Regions from separate parts of the Homo sapiens genome. Here region 1 is linked to region 2. Evidence: promoter capture Hi-C in 16 types of primary human blood cells and fetal thymus (Javierre and others, 2016). All regions are on one chromosome and are shown on one strand. The core of a region is centred on a gene start or on the middle of the fragment in contact, and the rest is flanking DNA. Distances in the headings are between cores, read along the strand shown.

Region 1 (5,649 bases), core at 1,257-3,756, 100 kb before region 2:
CTTTATTTCTTCTTAAAAAAAGTAGGATACCTGTACAGAACGTGCAGGTTTGTTTCATAGGTACACATGTGCCATGGTGGTTTGCTGCACCTATTGACCCATCCTCTAAGTTCCCTCCCCTCACCCCTCACCCCCCAACAGGCCCTGGTGTGTGTTGTTTCCCTCTCTGTGTCCATGTGTTCTCAATGTTCAACTCCCACTTATGAGTGAGAACATGCGGTGTTTGGTCAGGATGTTTTTAAGTGGGAGCTCACAGGTCATAAACAGATTCAAAGATTTTATGATTTGCAATTGGTTAAGGAAGAGAAACTTTGTTTAAAAATTTGGGGTCAGCAGAAAAGAGTGTTAGCTCTGGCTTGTAGGTGTGACATTCTTCAGGCCCCTCAGGAAGAAATTTAGAACAAAGAGTGGTGGTCAGAGCTCAGTGCCCAGTGTCCCTTCATCTGAGGTCTATGTGCCCAGGCATCCCTTTTGGTGGGGTTTGGGTTTCTGACAAACAACTCTGGGACATATGTTAAGGTGCTATCTTTAGTTTCTATGGCGGAACCAAACATCCCACGATTCCAGCTTTCGTGGCTGTTGTTTTGGGCTACTGTTATCTTCTTGCTTGTCAGGTTGCTTATTTATTTCTCCAGGCTAGCAAGGTGCCCAGAATTTCCCTTGAAGGAACTCAAGATTGTCCTTTATTTCCATGCTTGAGGGGACCTGAAGGCCCCTACGAGGGCGTCCCTGCTCCATCTCAGAGTGCACTAGGTGGTCTCTAATCTGGAGAAGACTCTGCTAGCCTTACAAAGAAAAACTAAGATGACATGTGACATGGCTTCAGAGGATCCCCATGGGAGCTGTCACAGAGTTGCAGCCCCACCAGCACATGCTAAGGATGTGTTCAGAGCGGAGGGAGGTAAGGAGAGCTCAGACCTGGCCTGTGTGGGTGCAGGAAGACCTCCTGGAGGAGAGCAGGATGGGGAAGTGACAGAACAAGAGATGGCGAAAGGCTGAGAGGGAAGGATGGAGGGAAGATGGATGGGAGGGATGAGGAGGGATGGAGAGAGAAGGTGAGAAAGAGAGAAGGCAGGGATAGGAAAATTCGGGTAGTTTCAGTAAGAGCAAAGAAGACAAAATGGCAGGGGCAAGAGTAGAGGAAGGAATGCAGAGGATTGGGAGGGACTGGAGTCCAGGCTCTTCCCCTAAACAATATGAGAGAGAGCCCCAAACCAGCCTGTCTCCAGATTTTCTTCCCTCCTGTGCCCCACCCAGCAAAGAGCTGCTGTTCACCCATGGGGCTCCAGCAGGGATCTCTGGGCAAGGGTGATCTTCAGGGACAGAGCTGCCTTGGGTTGAATAGGGCCACAGTGGCAATGGCGATCATGGGAGTAGCTGGGGCCCAACACAGGAGCCAGTGGCTAGGAAGCAGGGGCTGCAGCCAGAGTCTCTGGGGCTGGCATCAAAGGACTGTTTGGAGTAGAATGACATCGTGCTTACTGGGTCGCCCCCATTGGGTCTTTCTGGTCTGAGCCTGCCTGGAGGCTTGCACTCCTGGGGAGGGCTCAGCCAGCCTTGTTCTTGGCTCACTTGGGCCTGGACAGAGGCAATAGGAGTTAAGTTTCATGTTGATAACAGCTTCTTTATTTGAACTCTAAACAGATGATTACTGTCCTCAAGTTGTTCCTAGTCTTATTAGCAGATACACATTGGAGGAGAGACAGAAATGAGGAAGTGGACCACCCAGGAATCTCCATAACCCTCCAGGCCATGGGCCAGCCTCTGTCTTTGTCTTCTCTGTACCTCCTTCCAGTCAAGTCCCTGAATTTCTCAGCCACCTGCCCCAACTCCATCCTCCTTTTCTCGTCCTCATTTTCTCCAGTGTTTGAAGCCTCCAGCCTGCTTTATTATGGGTGTTTGAGGGGGGAGAAGTGAGGATAGTGCCCGTGGTTGGCTCTGGCCTGGGCTGCTTCTGTCCCATGCTAGCGAGAGGGTCACTCCACCTCCTAATACCCCATGAGTGAGAGCAGCTGCCCTCTATGGGTTATGTTTCCAGGAGGCCTGGGGAGAGGTAATGCCTGATCAGTCCCTTTCCAGGAAGGAGGAGAACAGAAGTTGGAGGCCCCAGTACTCTACCCAGTGTCCTGAACTATCCAGGAAAGTCCATCCTGTCTTCACCTGCTGCATCCCCAGGAGGAAGCCAACAACCCAGAGAAGATTAATCAGGATAGGGATGGTGCAGTGCCAGTGACATCCCCCTGGAGAGGCCAGGGCCTGGGGCAAATTACCCTATAACAGCAGGTTAATTAGATAAGACCCAAATTACATGAGCAAAGCTTGCAAGCCCAGCAATTTGAAGGTTTCATGTTGTTTCAGAGGTGGAGAGGGCTTGATCTCTAGCTCAGCATAGAGAAAATGACTTCTTGCTCCCAGGCAAGCCAAACCCACGAATTAAGCTCTTGACTGCCCATCCACAAGCCCCAGTGCCAAGCACATATAAAGGCACCTGCCAGTCCTCACTACAACCAGCAGAACCTTTTGGGATTTTGCCTTCCTCCCTCCTGCATCTGAGCTTTGTCTCCACCAGCAACATGAGCCGCCAATTCACCTGCAAGTCGGGAGCTGCCGCCAAGGGGGGCTTCAGTGGCTGCTCAGCTGTGCTCTCAGGGGGCAGCTCATCCTCCTTCCGGGCAGGGAGCAAAGGGCTCAGTGGGGGCTTTGGCAGCCGGAGCCTCTACAGCCTGGGGGGTGTCCGGAGCCTCAATGTGGCCAGTGGCAGCGGGAAGAGTGGAGGCTATGGATTTGGCCGGGGCCGGGCCAGTGGCTTTGCTGGAAGCATGTTTGGCAGTGTGGCCCTGGGGCCTGTGTGCCCAACTGTATGCCCACCTGGAGGCATCCACCAGGTTACCGTCAATGAGAGCCTCCTGGCCCCCCTCAACGTGGAGCTGGACCCCGAGATCCAGAAAGTGCGTGCCCAGGAGCGAGAGCAGATCAAGGCTCTGAACAACAAGTTCGCCTCCTTCATCGACAAGGTGGGTCTTCTAGGGCCTGGGGAACTTGTGAACAGCCCTCCTCTTCTCTTCTTGGAACATACGATTTTGTTACAGCAGGAGAGATTGAGGTTAGATGTGAGGAAGACTTTACTGTGGACAAGGTAGGTACATCCCATCAACAGGGTGACCTGTGTAAGGTTCTCTGTGTTGTCTTTCCAGAGAGAAAACAGAGGCAGGTCAATTTCTACTGGCAGAGGCTTCTCAGGGCTCCCAGCAAGAGATGTGGTCCTTCCTCTTGAGGGCTAGCTTGGTGCCATTGCTAGGCCTGCAGGCCGTGTGCAGAAAAGGCCTGTGAGAGCCAGTCTCGCCCAGAGTAAGCAGGGAAGCTGTCCTCCTCCCCTGGCATGCTGCCCTGCCCACTGGTCACTTGCCCAGCGGATCAGGAGCAGCAGGAAGGGGCCGCTTCAGGCCCTCTGATTGGGCATTTGCTCCAGTCAGTTGAAGACTTTCTTGAGAGGCAGAAGAGGGCACTGGGGAAGGGGACTCCACGGTGCTCTTGTGCTCACTGCTGGCCACAGCTGAGTGGCTCTGGGAAGGTGATCTGCCTGTCTGTGTTGCCATCTCCTCATCTCTAAAATGGAGATAATAACTTCTGTCTTGGGGTTGTTGTCAGGCTTATAAAAGAAAATGCAGGTGAAGATCTTGTCACAAGCCTGACGCACACTAAATACTCCAAAAATGATTGTGATTGTGACTCTCATTTCTTATCTCTGGAATGTGGGGGAGGGAAGCTCAGGGGAGGAATCAAAGGTGTCTAGAGACCTGAAGAGATGACACAGTCCAGATAGGCCCCTGACTTCTGGCAGAGAAGAAATGATTATCCCTATCGTATGAGTCACTGAAGGCATGGAGGTAAATGGCATTCCCAGGGTCATTTGGGGAAAGGGAAGGGTGAGGCTGGACCCTCAGCCTTTTGCCTCCAGACCCAGAGGAGGAGACTGGAGGGTTCTGTTGGCTCTGTGGCAGTCAGGCACCAAGGACGGGTCAACCCAGGACAAAGTCTATGGGTGAGACGGTCATGTGGCCATCAGAGCTTAGCCAGCTCCTGCAGCTCAGACTTCCTGCCTGGAGGAGTCCCTGCTGCCCTCGGCTCAGCCTCAGGGGCTAGGACTGGCTCTGCGGCTTCTTATTCTTCTAAGCCTTTTCATATCTGCAAGATCAAAGTGTTCTGAGATGGGGTCTGGGTGATGGGAGTGGACTGATTGATTCTTGGCTCGGCTGGTCAAAACCTACAGAAGGATAAAGTCTGGAGACATGGGAAGAAAGATGAACATGAGGAGGGTCACATCCTGTTTATAAAGATGGTCTGCCCAGAGGGAGGGGAAGGAGGCTGAAAGGCTTGGACAGTTCCCAAATAATTTCAGTCTCCAGAGATCAGTCCCTTAACCTCAGGCAGCCAGAGAAGACGGGTAAATCCTTTCGGCATCCAGATGTGTTCAGTAGTGCAGGTGTGTATTGTGGTGTCTCAGATGCAGGATTTACTCTGTGGTTAATGCTCAGCCTCGTAGATCACATGAAAAATTCAGGATTGGTTAAACCAGACCAAATGCTGGAAGACGGGCTAGAGACAAATTTTCGGGGAATAATTCTATCTTGACACTGAATCTTAGATAGTTTTCCCATGTCTTGTGTTTCTGATGTTGGGGAAGACAACCTTATTCAAGCAGTAGCTGTGCTCATGTAGATTAAGGGAAGTCACATTTTAAAAACTGTGCTCCCCATCCCCAAAAACCAAACAAGAGGTGTGTATGGACATCTCCTTCTGGCCAGTTTCCTGCCTCAGTGAGGGGCTACAATGGGATCAGGAGCTCCATCTGTCCATCATGTTCCATGTGCCATGCTTGTTGCAGAGAAGATGGTTCTGGGGAGCAGGACCAAGGAGGGAGAGGAGGGGCTATAAGCAAAGATGAAGCTGGTGCCTGCTCCAGGCATTTAAAATACCTAGAAGCCCTTGGCCCAAGCCTTACTGAGCTCTGACATGCCCTGAAATGAAGAGCAGACTTTTCTTCAGGATGGTCAACCTGTCCAAAATGGTGGACCCATCCTGGCTTCTCTGCTGGTATTTTCAATCACAGCCAAGCCCTGAGTTGGTGCAACCATGGAGGGTGCTGGGTGATTGCATGCACGGGTTACAGGGACATGTGTCTAGATTCAGTTCCGGGCTCCACCGCTTCTTAAACTGTTGGGCCTTGGAAACAGCCGAAGTTGCTCTGTGTCTCAGTTTTCTCTCCATAGCAGAGGGTAATGATTTGCCCACCTCTTTCAGCTCTATTGAGGAGAAAATGCAGATAGAAGCTTTACACAATGCCCTGTGAGAGACACGTGTGACTATTACTGCAAGGGTTCAGCAGTTTCTGGGATCTGGGTTCCAGGTGCGGTTCCTGGAGCAGCAGAACCAGGTACTGGAGACCAAGTGGGAGCTGCTGCAGCAGCTGGACCTGAACAACTGCAAGAACAACCTGGAGCCCATCCTCGAGGGCTACATCAGCAACCTGCGGAAGCAGCTGGAGACGCTGTCTGGGGACAGGGTGAGGCTGGACTCGGAGCTGAGGAATGTGCGGGACGTAGTGGAGGACTACAAGAAGAGGTGAGCAGGAGGAGTCCCCCTGTAACT
Region 2 (5,800 bases), core at 3,194-5,693:
CCATTTAAGTGCCAAAAGAATGAATGGACTGCAGTGGACTGAAACATATCAAATATATTTTTTGTTAAACTGTGAATTTATAATTATATCACAACAAAAATACCTTCTTGGTTACCTTTGAAGATTGCTAGAGAACCAATCTATTATCTGAAAACTGATAAATAAAGGGAAAGAGTCAAACACTTATTCTAAGTTTCTTGTATGAATTAAATGTTAGGTTACCTAAAAGGTAAATGATGAAGAGTCCTTCTTTGTAGAGGAATCCCAACTAATAAACACAGAAGGCATGATAAAATCAGCAAGATGCCATTTTGCAACCTCTAATGAAGCAGTGAATCTGGAAATTGATGGAATCAATGAATATTAATATATCAGATGAAAATTGTATTGTGTGCAGTGGTTTATAATGGAGGGATTGGGTTGAACCCACTGAAATCCCCTAATCAGTCTTAACAGCACAAAAAGTAGGCAATTACTATTACATATCTTATGATATGGTGCAAGAGGATGTACATAGCACCAGCTATTGCATAATCTTGCCTGCCACAATGGGAACAAATCTAATCAAGTCTTCACTACAACTACCAACACATAGGAAAAACTAGGTGAGAGAAGGCGTTATGTGATACCAACAGGAAGCAATGAGTCAAATCCAGAATATGAACATTCTATAGAAACAAACAAACAAAAATTCCACAAATCAATGGCAAATAAAAGAAAAAGACAGGGTTCATTACAGAATAAATAACCTTAAAAGACATGGCAGCCGAATGTAATATATGAACCTAATTAGGTTGTTGCTTGGAATAAGCCAGCTACAAAGAGAAATTTTTGAGATAATCAGAGAAATGAAAATATGAAGGAGGTATTGGATAGATTTAATACTGTTACACAACTAGATTATAAATTCACTACTACTCAGCTATATATACAAATATTGACAAGTGAAATGTCTTGATGTCTAGATTTCCTTTAAGATACTTTAAGAAAAGAAGTAGGGGAGTTAGATATAAAAAGACTAGGGGAGTTAAATGGAACAATAATGAGAAAAATGTTGATAACTGTTTAATCTGCATAATTCATTCATGGAGGTTTATATACTGTTCTCTTTACCTGTTGGAAATTTTCAATAATACAAAGTTTGTTTTAGCAATGAAGTGGCTTATTACACTGAGAAAAACACAAATATAGCTTGAGATTAAATTTCTAGTGATAGTAAAAATGATGTTTTATGGAAAGCATTCAAGTTACTCAAAAACAGCTCAAGGGAAGATAGAGGCCCTACAGAACAATGAAACATCTATATTAACAAAGTGCAAGAGAGGAAAAAAATAATATTTCAAACTTAGGTTATTGGATTAACATTTTACATAATATGATATTTTAAATATAAATGAGTGGCTTCTGAACTTAATCTAGTGGAAGAAAGGGAAGCCCTTTCCTCTTCTCAGAAATTGCCTAAAAACAACAAAGAGAACAAAAAACATAAAGGCAGACTCTACCCTCAAAAACCAGAAGTAAAAGATCTTAAAATCCCTAAACCAAATGATGATGATGATGATGATGATGATGATGATAATAATAATAATAATAGAATGTCCTCACATAAATAGAGAAATACAAACAAGGTTGTTAGGAAAACTCAGAGAGCAGATGCCACGGCTGCCAATCTCAGACAAAGCCAGTGGAGAACACTCACAAATAAACAGATCAAAATCAAACAACACAGTAACCACAAAGGAAAACCAAACACAGCCTAACAGTGAGGTTTTACTACATGCCAGGCACAGTTGACTCATTTTCCTCAACTAAATCAATGTAAAGGGCATGTCCTCCTGTGAAAATCCAAGAATCCCTTATTTGCAACTATCACAACTGGGTGTGTGAGCACGAGCCAGGACCCTGCTTGTCATGAAGTTTCAAGAAACTATGAAGGCAAATTTGAATAAGAAGAGAGACAAGGTCAACTAGTAGCATTTTATTGTGAGGCAAAGAAAACAAAGAGGCTGTAAATTGTGAGCCACTCTGCAGTGATCTTTATTGGTTTGGCTGAATGAAAGAATAAAAGAACTATTCACACAGCCCTGTGTCACAATCAGAACTCCTGTTAGCCTGGATATGGCCCTGGCTCATCCACCCATAATACTTTCTACAAACCGCAGGTCCAGAGGGGGCTCATCTCATTAAAAATAAGCACTAGTCAGAAAGGAACCATGCCAGGACTCAGAAAAGGTCTGTGCATTCAAAATTGAAAAAAATAGGCAAAAAAAAAAAAAAGACTCATAAAAACTCTCAACAGAAAAAGGCACAATAAAATACTAAAAAATAAACACTATAAAGTGGGAAAAAGAAGACAAAATATAGTGAGACAGGTAAAAGATAAAATATTCATTTGTGGAGCACAGAAAAGGGGTAGAGATAACAACAAAGTCCTGCTTAGAAATGAAGGTCAAATTGGCCAGGTGCGGTGGCTCACGCCTGTAATCCCAGCACTTTGGGAGGCCAACGCGGGTGGATCACGAGGTCAGGAGTTCAAGATCAGCCCGGCCAACATGCTAAAACCCCATCTCTCCTAAAAATACAAAAATTAGCCGGGCATGGTGGCAGGTACCTGTAGTCCCAGCTACTTGGGAGGCTGAGGCATGAGAATCACTTGAACCTGGGAGGCGGAGGTTGCAGTGAGCCGAGATCATGCCATTGCACTCCAGCCTGGGTGACAGAGCAAGACTCTGTGTAAAAAAAAAAAAGAAAAGAAAAAAGAAATGAAGCCCAAATTGAAAGCGGCATAAGGAGGAAAGACATTGGTAAACAGACAGTAATGGACATTTGGGAGAAATGTCCTCGAATAACTGGGAAAAGCAAACAGCTATGAAAAAGAGACTAGAGACTGTTAAAAAGAGAATCAGAAAACATAGATGTGGGAGACAAAGCAGACACAACACAATCACAATTGAAAAAGACAATATTTTTATGTTTTGTACATATGAATACATGAAATATTTTATATACATAAAACACACTCAAACACATACACACAAAACATTCATGTATTTATTTATATACCTTTCTACAATGCAGGCTCCCTCTCTATATATGCCAACTCCCTCCACCTCTTCCTCACCCATACAAACACACGTTGACACAAACACATATGCACAGACATGTCACCCATGGCCCAGGAAAAGCACAGGAAAATATCCAAGTAAAGATACAAGGATACACAAGGAACTGCTAACATTACTTCCTCCATAGATAGGAATTGGGTAACTGGGGAATGGCCTTGAGCTATATTATTTTGTTGTTTAGCATGTTTTACAAAAAATTTTTTAAAACATGTATCATGTATTCAATTTGTAAACATGTAAATAATTGTGCAAATAGTACTATTCAAAATTTAAATGGGCAATCTACTACATTTACTTCTAGAATGTTTAAATATAGACAGAATCTTAATAAGCTTCTAATTTTAATATGAAATATGAAGGTTAGAGTCTCATATTAAAGGAAACAATAGGGGTATGCAATTAGAAAAATCCCAAGAATGAAAAAGTACAATGAACAGTTAACCTGTTTTATTTAACAAATAAAAGTAAGAAATGAAGGGAGATTTTTAAATTTCAATGATTTAAAGGATATATCACTCAAATACAACGTTTATAGAGCTTATTTTGACTCTGATTGGGACACCAAAATATAAGAAATATATATCAAAAATAGGACTGCTTGAAGACTAAATAGACACTTGTTCATTTTAATTAGTATGTAAATTTTTAAGATATAAAAATAGTGTTTTGATTTTTTAAAGGACCTATTATTTAGATATTAATATTGAATTATTGATTGAAGACATAATATGACTTCTGGAATTTCCTTTCAAACAATCTAGAATGGAAGAGGAAATAGGGTTGAAGTATGAAAGAAATCAGGCTGGCCATGAGATGATCATCATGGAAGCAGGTGACAGGTATATACAGGCCCATTGCAGTGTTCTGCTTCTCTACCTGTTTAAAATTGCACCTAAAAGGTGAAACAATTATGGGGAAATTGTAATATTTCTGTTAAGGAATTCACAATACAGTGCCTGTGATCTCCAACAGCAAGGCTGGAAGAAAGTCAGACTGGGAAGAGGAGGGCACTCAGGGCATGTCGATAAACAGCCTAGCATGCAGAACCTTTGCTGAAGACAGTGACTAATTCCAACTTCATGAATTGAGAATACTCTTATTGTGCTGAGATCTCAAGTCAAAGCTGGAGGCAGGAACATTTTGCCTGACTAAAGGAAGCGAAAAATGCAATCTCGGTATTTCATAACTTTTGTAATAATGCAGGTGTGATCTCACTATTTGTAAAGCCCAGCCCTTCCCAACCTGCAAGCTCACCTTCCAGGACTGGGCCCAGCCCATGCTCTCCATATATAAGCTGCTACTGGAGTCCGATTCCTCGTCCTGCTTCTCCTCCCTCTCGCCTCCAGCCTCTCACACTCTCCTAAGCCCTCTCATCTCCTGGAACCATGGCCAGCACATCCACCACCATCAGGAGCCACAGCAGCAGCCGCCGGGGTTTCAGTGCCAACTCAGCCAGGCTCCCTGGGGTCAGCCGCTCTGGCTTCAGCAGCATCTCCGTGTCCCGCTCCAGGGGCAGTGGTGGCCTGGGTGGCGCATGTGGAGGAGCTGGCTTTGGCAGCCGCAGTCTGTATGGCCTGGGGGGCTCCAAGAGGATCTCCATTGGAGGGGGCAGCTGTGCCATCAGTGGCGGCTATGGCAGCAGAGCCGGAGGCAGCTATGGCTTTGGTGGCGCCGGGAGTGGATTTGGTTTCGGTGGTGGAGCCGGCATTGGCTTTGGTCTGGGTGGTGGAGCCGGCCTTGCTGGTGGCTTTGGGGGCCCTGGCTTCCCTGTGTGCCCCCCTGGAGGCATCCAAGAGGTCACTGTCAACCAGAGTCTCCTGACTCCCCTCAACCTGCAAATTGACCCCGCCATCCAGCGGGTGCGGGCCGAGGAGCGTGAGCAGATCAAGACCCTCAACAACAAGTTTGCCTCCTTCATCGACAAGGTGAGCCAGTGCCATGCCCTCCATCGGGCACTTCAGGGTCCCCAGACCAGAAGAGCAACACCTTCCTGCCGGAGAGACCCTAGGAGGGAGGGAGAAGGGGACTCAGCCCAGCTCTGCAGAGAGTGCAGGTGGCTCTCGGTGCACAGGAGGCAGCACAGATGGGCATCACTCCCCCATGGGATATCTGGAGTGGCCCTCACTCCTGCCTAGGGAGAGCCATAACTTTTCATAACCCTGAAGCACAGATGAGGCCATCAGAGAGTGGAGTAGGTTAATTCTCCCCTCTGAAGTGTTTAAGAGATTACAAAGCAAATGCCAGGAGTATATGGGCTGGTAAATTACACTCTGGGGTCTGGGTAAGAGGAAAAAGATTTAGAAAGAAAAGGAAAAGATAATCTGGCTGGATTAAGAAAAAAAGGGACATAGAAACAACTGTAAAACATGGATAAATGCTAATTAATTTTAAAAACAGAGAATGACCATAACATCAGAATATTTGAGAGGAGACACTAAATGGGAAAGTAGACTGAAATGTAATCATGAGTCAACATCTAATATCCCTCCTAACTAAGATCCTCTCGGTAAAAAAAACTGTGTACAATATATCAGGTAATTAGTATTTTTAAACTAGATTTGTGATTGTGCTTGGAAAAAGAAAAGAAGAAATGTTGAAACTCACTGATGATCAATAGCTTACAGTGCGAGAACACCTCAGTGGTCCGTGGGACAATTTCTCTAGTGAGACTGGTG

Evidence for each region. Contacts are between HindIII fragments. The CHiCAGO score rates a contact against its expected background, and 5 or more counts as called.
Region 1: the fragment with the promoter of KRT71 here is called in contact with the fragment with the promoter of KRT6B in region 2 in 4 of 17 cell types (neutrophils, M1 macrophages, erythroblasts and 1 more); the score reaches 5.7 in neutrophils.

Annotation. Positions count from the first base shown.
Region 1 is chr12:52,550,002-52,555,650 of GRCh38, reverse strand. It overlaps KRT71 (keratin 71), which reads left to right and starts at 2,506. Exons shown (of 9, transcript NM_033448.3): 1 at 2,506-3,014; 2 at 5,408-5,622. The coding sequence starts at 2,574. The HindIII fragment of the contact is 3,012 bases long and covers 2,321-5,332 here.
Region 2 is chr12:52,450,789-52,456,588 of GRCh38, reverse strand. It overlaps KRT6B (keratin 6B), which reads left to right and starts at 4,443. Exons shown (of 9, transcript NM_005555.4): 1 at 4,443-5,050. The coding sequence starts at 4,511. The HindIII fragment of the contact is 8,192 bases long and covers 3,460-5,800 here.